3 separate regions of the Homo sapiens genome follow, and regions 1 and 3 are each linked to region 2. Evidence: promoter capture Hi-C in 16 types of primary human blood cells and fetal thymus (Javierre and others, 2016). All regions are on one chromosome and are shown on one strand. The core of a region is centred on a gene start or on the middle of the fragment in contact, and the rest is flanking DNA. Distances in the headings are between cores, read along the strand shown.

Region 1 (2,700 bases), core at 121-2,620, 73 kb after region 2:
ACTATCAAGATGAAGTCAGTCCACTACTCCACAATGGAAGTGAGGAAGAGTATGCGTGGAATACAGGAGATCCATTAGGGCGTCTCTTGGGATTATCATGCACTCTGATTAAGGTCAATGGGAAACTACAACAGCCCAACCCAGGTAAGACCTAAATGGTCCAGATCCCTCCGGGGTCACAACCTGCTGAGGTGCTTGCTAAAGGCAAAGGAAATACAGAATGAATAATGGAAGAAGGTAGTAATCAATACCAGCTGTGACCATGTGACCAGCTGCAGAAATGAGGACTGGAACTGTCATGAGTATTTCTTTCTTCTTTTCTTAAAAAACATCTTTGTGCATGTATACACTTGTACTAAGAAAATATCTTGATTTCATTTCCTTTTTCTTTATCAGGTGACATAAGAGTTATTGACTTCATATCAGCATTTAAGCATTGTTCACTTTATGTAATAGTATTTGGGTTGGCGATTGGTGCGTTTCCGGTTGTAGGAAGGATAGTTATGTTAGGTGTAATTACGACCACATTATTGTCTTTATTTTAAGATTAGGTATGATCTCAGGAGATGTGTATGTGTTCAAGGTGACAAGGGGTGGGCTTGTGATGGTTAATACTGAGTGTCAACTTGATTGGATTGAGGAGGTAAAGTATTGGTCCTGGGTGTGTTTGTGAGGGTGTTGCCAAAGGAGATTAATATGTGAGTCAGTGGGCTGGGAAAGGCAGACCCGCCCTTAATCTGTGTGGGCACAATCCAGTCAGCTGCCAACACAGCTAGACTATAAGCAGGCAGAAAAATGTGAAAAGAGATGGGCCTCACCTCCCAGCCTACATCTTTCTCCCGTGCTGGATGCTTCCTGCCCTCGAACATGGACTCCTAGTTCTTCAGTTTTGGAACTCTGGCTGGCTCTCCTTGCTCCACAGCCTGCAGACATCCTATTGGGAGACCTTGTGATTGTGTGAGTTAATACTTAATAAACTTCCTGTATTAGCCAGTGACATCTAGAGGGACAGAACTAACAGGAGATTTATACATATACACACATACATACACACACACATATATACACAGACACACATATATATATACACACACACACACATATATACATATATATATATAAATGTAGGAAGTTTCCGTTTTTCCCTCAAAACAAGTACGTTCCCCCAAGTTCAGGCCCCTGAATAGGCAGCAGGAGGGTGTATGCAGAGTCTCCACTAAAGTGATTTGACCACTCCTAGTCAGGCATCAGTAATACTCCCCAGAACCCCAGGCTGAAGCCCACTGATGCTGATGTAGTTCAATCCACTTCCTCTACGACTGCACCAGGCTGAGATGCCTTGGCCCCTGTTAAAGATGTGACATATAATGGATGCGAATCTGTGTTCAGTTTTGTCCAAATCCAAGTGATTTCTCCATATACATGGGTACTTACTGGAAAGGAGATGGAGACTCTCTGTCCTAGATGTGAGACAGGAGGCTGGCACCTGGGTTAGGATGACCTTCCCTCACTGCTAAAGAGTAAAAGAGGAAAGAAAGTGGCATTGATAGTGCAAGGCAGGGATATGCCCTGAGCAGCAGCTGCCCTCACTAGGAGGGAAGACTCACTGTCCTGGTCTTTCCCAAGCTCTCCCCGTCACCTGATCTCCAGGAATCCAGGCTCCAGAGGAGCTCCTCCTGAGTCCCCAGGAACATGCTAGTGGGCAGTGCAGCCCAGACCATTACTCAGGGAATATGGCATTAGTCTTTTTTTGGAGACAATTGATCCCTGAATAATTTCAAGTTTATCCTAATCCATGCTTCTATAATTGGAGGAAGAAACAAGTGACTTTTTTTTTATTTTTTAAGTAGTCAGGTCTAGCATCACTACTCAGCCCTTCATGCTGATGAATCCTGGGAAGAAATAACCAATGACAGAAACAGGAATAGAATATGGAGGCCCTGAAACCAAAAATAAGATGCATTCCATAAAATCCCTGGCGTTAAAGAGGTCCATAGGTTTGGATAATGGTAGATCTGTGAGCAATACATGCTTTGAGGTTGAGGGTATCATCTTTGTGCATCTGCAGGGAATTGCTTGAACAGATAGTGATAATCATAATAATGAATTAAAGTCATTCCAAAATACTGAAAGTATTTAAATACTGAAATATATTTAGCATTATCTTGATAAATTTTTTTAAAGGGAAGAAACAATTTCACACTCACAGAAATGTTGTAAGTATACCACAATGTATCCCCTTCCCTTTCAGAGTATATCAAATACCCGATGATCACACCCTCTAAAACTTTACTATCATTTTCCTACAGAGAAGAATATTCTCCTAAATAATCCCAATACACCAATGGAATATATTATTTCATCAGGTACTCAGCAGTATTTCAAATTTTGAGAAGTATCAAAAAATGTGCTCTGTGACAAAGTGGTCCCCAGGAAGAAACACGTTATTTACAGACATATCTGTACTGCCCTGGTTTGACCTGGGACCCTAGGGACATTGTTCCTATGCTGAGTTACTGAGATGAGCCAGCCCTGCAGCTATGCCCAGCCTGCTCCACTCCCTGCTGATTAGCATGTTCCCAGAGCACAGCCCCCTGCCCTGAAGACTTCTTAATAGGCTGGTCACACCCTGTGCAGGAGTCAGCCCCAGTCAGGACACAGCACGGACGCGAGGGCCCCCACTCAGCTCCTGGGGCTCCT
Region 2 (2,700 bases), core at 50-2,549:
GGACATCCCATTGGCCCTCATCAGGTCCCCCATGTCTGCTTGTTCCTGCAATCCATTCTCAAAACATAAAGCATAACATGTCACACAGTTTCACACTCTTCAGCACTTTCCTTTGCTCTGAGGAGAAGCCAGGCACCCACTCACCTGGCCCCACCCAGCACCCCCATCCCCACACACTCTTCCTTGCATCCTCCCTGCTACCTGATGGGGCCCCTGTGCCCCTCTTGTAAGCTGACATGCAGTGCACATTGGGGATGGCTTACTGAAGAGGCCCCTTGTCTGTCCTGTTCTCTAAGACATCTGCAGAGGCAAGAACAGATCCTGTGCATATCAGATGCCCCCAACTGTGCTTTCACACAATGTGTGAACAAAGAAGCAAACCAAGCTCCTCCAGAGGCAGGAGACAAGGACCTCCGGCTTCTTGGTCCCCGTGACACCGGGTCTGGTTGAGGCCAAGCTGCCCTCATCTTTGACCTGTTCTCTCCTTCCCTTCTCTCCCCAGGCAACATGAGAACCTCCAACTGGCCCAGGGAAGGAACTTGTAAAGCCCACCCCAACCAGGATAAGACAGTGGGGCATAAATGGGAGGAGAGGGGTTGGCTGTCAGTGCCACACTCAATGAACACTCACACATGCACACACTGATGCGTGCACACACGTGACATAAGTACACACGGTGACATCCCAATACATTCACAAACATACACAACACAAACAGGCCCAAACCCTCACTCTGAAACCTAACCCCACCCCCAAACTGCAACCCGGAACTCAAGTCCTAGCCTGAACCTTGACCCCAAACCCCAACTCAAGTCAGAAGGTAAACCATGGGCCGAATCCCGAACTGGAACTCAAACCCCAGCAGGAACCTGAACTCTTCCATTGTCTTTCCTCATCTGGCGCATGGGACTCAGCACCTGAGACTCTGTTGTGGCCCTCTGAATGAGCTGCGCCCCTCGTTCTTGTCCTCTCCACCAGCTGCGCTCCCTGTCCCTCTTCTCCCAAGGAGCCACCCGGCCCATGTCCCCCGCCCCGGTGGTCCCGATGAGATGCACCCAGGCTGACCCAGGGTGCAAATCCCCACCCCAATCCCCAACGCAAACCCTGAACGAGAGGCCTCGTCTAAACTTTAATCCCAAACTCCACCTCAAATTGGAACCGGAACCACAGATGGAAGCCTGAACCGGAACTCAAAGCCCAGCTGGAACCTGAACCCCGCCCTCGCCTGTGAGCACCTGCGCCCGGGTCTCGCCCTCCCCACGAGCTTCACCTCTGACCCCGACCTCCCCTAGAACTGCGCTTTCTACCCCGCAGTCCCAGGGTATCGCAAGCCGTCCCTCACACCCCACCTCCAGCAACGCCCTCTCGCCCTGTCTCCCCCACCTTCACTGTGAGCTGCAGCCCCCATGTCCCTGCCGTCCCCCTCACCCTCCCGGGAGCTGTGCCCACCTGACCCGGCATTTGCGCCTTTGTCTTCGTGGCCCGGAAGTGGCCCCGCCGGCGGAAGCACGAGAAGTGGCCACGTGCTGTACAGCGGCTGGCTGAGGAAGTCGCCCCCCGAGAAGAAGCTGAGGCTCTTTGTGAGTGGGGCAGTGGGGGCGGTACCAGGAGCGCCACGGAGGGTCTGGGGACTCCGGGAGGGGCGTGGGGGAGGCGGCCTGGGTCCACGGGAGGAGCTGCGGGTGGAGGCGACTTCTCCACGTCTGCATGCGAAGGCGACTCCCCGCCAGTGAGAGACAGGGTCCAGGTTTGTGTGGGTTGCGTTCCGAGACCCAGGGAGTTGATTCCAGGGCTGGGGACCCTATTACCTTGAGCGCCGTGGGCCTGCAGGTCGGAGAGTGGGCGGGAAAGGGGACACAGCAGGCTCCGCAGCCTCGCAAAACGGCAGGAACCTCGCACCCGCTCCCCTTCCCTCCCAGGCCCTGAGAATGGCGGGCACCTCGCACCCTCTCTCCTTCCCTCCCAGGCCCCAAGGAAGGCAGGCGCCTTAAACCTGCTCACCTTCCCTCCCAAGCCCCGAGAAGGCAGGCACCTCACACCCTCTCCCTTTCCCTCCCGGGCCCCAGGAAAACGCGGGCACCTCGCACCCGCTCGCTCCCCTTCCCTCCTCACCCGCCACTCCCGGGGTCGTTCGCGTCCTTCCATGCCACCACGCCTGCTGAGGGACAGTGTGCACTGCAGTGTAGTTTTCTATATATTAATTCATGTGGTTAAACGATTTAGAAAAAAAGAAGATTGGTTGCCCTTTCCCCTAGTGGCTAATTTGAAGAGTGTTGTTCTAAATTTCAACAATTTTACTGAGGAAGCGGTAATTGTTAGGAGTCACTATGATTATACCAAGGTACATAGAAGAGGCTTTTCTCTCCTGTTCCTTAGCCCCAGGTCCAGCCCTTCAAGAATCTATTCCAGAATAAGCTGATCCTATAGTCATCTTCCCTTTCCTCTGCTTCCCTGAGGTATGGGGTATGATCAATTCTGCGTTCTTGTCTTTCTCCATTTCTTTTTTCAATTTTTTATTATACTTTAAGTTCTGGGATACATGTGCAGAACGTGGAGGTTTGTTACATACATATACACGTGTCATGGTGGTTTGCTGCACCCATCAACCCATCATCTACATTAGGTATTTCTCGTAATGCTATCCCTTCCCTTGCCCCCCAACCCCAATAGGCCACATTGTGTAATGCTCCCGTCCCTGTG
Region 3 (2,700 bases), core at 68-2,567, 94 kb after region 2:
TCTTGGCTCTAAATGTAGAGACCCACATCATTCTCCCTGTGAGGCCCTTGGACGGAGCGCTTTTTTGGGGCTCACTCATCAGGTGCCAGGGACGGGGAGATTCTAACACTTGCACTGAATAATATTGAACAGTTATCCTGGAAACAGCACATACGAGGCAACACTTGAACTGGCTCAGGAGCACTTTTCATTTGCAGGCCCTCTGCCCGTCTGTGCTTGTGGGAATGGGGCTGTTTTCTTTCTCTAGATTGATTGGGAGGGAGGCCTGCAGGATGGCATTCACCTCCCAAAGATGCATCCTAGAAACACATTTCCACGTTGTCAGGGTCCTTGTGCGTTCTCAGTGTGGCATGCACTGCACAATGTGTCCCTGCCCAAGGTCCCAACTTCCACAGTCAGAGCCTTCTTCCCTTGACCACAGGCAAACTTGACTTGAACTACATTTGTTTGGCTCCAGCAAACATTTTATGTCACATTGTTCACAGAAGAGACATTCCCCCTGCCCCATCAACCTTTTCCACACCACTGCACCCACCAGGTGATTTGCATGTTGTCCCTTAGGGAGGACCTTCCCTTGTGAGTCTGAGATAAAAGCTCAGCTCTAACCTTGCCTTGACTGATCAGGACTCCTCAGTTCACCTTCTCACAATGAGGCTCCCTGCTCAGCTCCTGGGGCTGCTAATGCTCTGGGTCTCTGGTAAGGATAGGATCAAAAGTGAGGTGAGAAAATGGGGTGGGAGGGTGAGATCTGGGGTCTCCACAGCTTCCTATTTTTATTTCAACCATGTGTTACGGGCACATGGTCTGTGCTCCGGGAAAGATTACTCGTATTTTTTGTCTCAGGAATAGTCAGGAATCATCTCCCAGGAAAAATGACCAGTGCTCTGATTAAGCTCTTGAAAATAAACTGCTCCCTGCTGGCTAGTAACAAATTGGTTCATTTTAGAAAGTCTACTTTTCATGATAAAAATCAAAACTTGAAAAAATATGTAACTCTAAATCAAAATCTTAAGGAAAATCATGAAAGTTGCTCAAAATGTGTTTATATAACCTTGCACTTCTCTGTTATTATTTCAGGATCCAGTGGGGACATTGTGATGACCCAGACTCCACTCTCCCTGCCTGTCACTCCTGGAGAGCCAGCCTCCATCTCCTGCAGATCTAGTGAGAGCCTCTTGGATACTGATGATGAATACACCTATTTGAATTGGTACCTGCAGAAGCCAGGCCAGTCTCCACAGCTCCTGATCTATGAGGTTTCCAACCGGGCCTCTGGAGTTCCAGACAGGTTCAGTGGCAGTGGGTCAGGCACTGATTTCACTCTGAAAATCAGTAGGGTGGAGGCTTAGGATGTTGGGGTTTATTACTGCATGCAAGCTCTACAAACTCCGCCCACAGTGCTACATCCTCGAACAGAAACCTCCCTGCTGGGTTGACCCAGCTGCCCGCATGGGCTGCTTGTCTGAGGGAACAGCTGAGCAGAGTCTTTGAGTCTGCAGAGGAGAAGGCTGTTGGGGATGTCAGGGCAAGGTTTGCTGCTGAGGACGCTGGTCCATGACAGCCTCAGTAGCACCTCAGATTTCATATGTTAAGGCCCCACCAGCAGTCACAGCCTGGGGAAGGCATCAGGAGGAGGAGAATTCATGGGGGCTACGTGCCCTGGGAGCAACCAGCTATGATGAAGGGAGAGTGAATGAAAGCTCACATCCTCACCCTCCCTGTCTTGCCCACATTTGTCAAGTTCATGTAACTGTCAGAATAACCAGACCATGGATGCAGTTTAGTGACAACACAAGTAGAACACATATGGGAAATGACCATCTTGGGGTTTATTTCACACGCGATGACACTTAGTCATATTGGGAAATTCATACTCTCCCATCTTCCTAATTCTGCTCTCTGACTCCCACCAAACCGTCTCTCCAGTGTCTTACAGGTAGAAGCATTCTACACAAGCTGTGTGCAGGGGAGTACAGCTAACACTTAGAAAAAATGTTTGATGTTGGATTATTCAAATAGACTTTGTAAACTCATGGCAGGTATGAGATCTTAATGTTAAAAGATTGATTACTCTTAATTATTATTTGCCAAGTGAAAGCAGAGTTTTCACAATTCCAAAAGTGGCCTTTGAAAATAAACTGCAGGAACTCAAAGATGGAAAATATAAAGTTTATTTCAAGTAAAAAAGGGAACATTCAGAATTATGTGAGATTTTTATTTCTTTTCCAAATTCTAAAGGTTTTGAAAGTATTTAGGCTAAGTTCTATTTTAGAGTAGAAATGTATTACTATGTTTTCAAAAGAAAAGGTTTCAAAAAATACAGAAATGCATTCTTTTCACATGATTATATCATTACCTGAAAATGAATCTGAATTCAATGTTTTAGTTGTAAATGCCTGGAGCATCTATGCTTTTCATAGATTTTATTAAATATAGTGTTCTAAATGATATTGAACCCAATAATGAGTCACATGAGGTACATATAATTACACTGTGTGATAGACACAAAATAATGACAGAATCAACAGAAGAAGTTCTGCTTCAGGCTAAGGGTAGAAAGTACACTAGGATGATTGTTTATTCCAATATAACAAATTTCATGGTAAGTGCAATTAAAATTCCAAAGTTCCACTTCTGTTACGTTTAAAAATTGTATGGCAATATTTTTATAGATATCAATCACACTGGAGCCTGCAAATG

Evidence for each region. The method cuts DNA at HindIII sites, captures the fragments that hold promoters and counts their contacts. A CHiCAGO score of 5 or more calls a contact.
Region 1: a fragment that was not itself captured here is called in contact with the fragment with the promoter of GAB4 in region 2 in 2 of 17 cell types (M2 macrophages and M0 macrophages); the score reaches 7.0 in M2 macrophages.
Region 3: a contact is called between a fragment that was not itself captured here and the fragment with the promoter of GAB4 in region 2, in 2 of 17 cell types (M2 macrophages and M1 macrophages). The highest score is 6.9, in M2 macrophages.

Annotation. Positions count from the first base shown.
Region 1 is chr22:16,933,966-16,936,665 of GRCh38, reverse strand. It overlaps the pseudogene IGKV1OR22-1. Among named protein-coding and RNA genes, the nearest start is that of GAB4, 73 kb to the left of the region's middle. RefSeq lists an enhancer at 2,515-2,700. The HindIII fragment of the contact is 7,898 bases long and covers 1-2,700 here.
Region 2 is chr22:17,006,821-17,009,520 of GRCh38, reverse strand. It overlaps GAB4 (GRB2 associated binding protein family member 4), which reads left to right and starts at 1,299. Exons shown (of 10, transcript NM_001037814.1): 1 at 1,299-1,580. The coding sequence starts at 1,407. The HindIII fragment of the contact is 7,120 bases long and covers 1-2,700 here.
Region 3 is chr22:16,912,928-16,915,627 of GRCh38, reverse strand. It overlaps the pseudogene IGKV2OR22-4. Among named protein-coding and RNA genes, the nearest start is that of XKR3, 89 kb to the right of the region's middle. The HindIII fragment of the contact is 4,149 bases long and covers 1-2,700 here.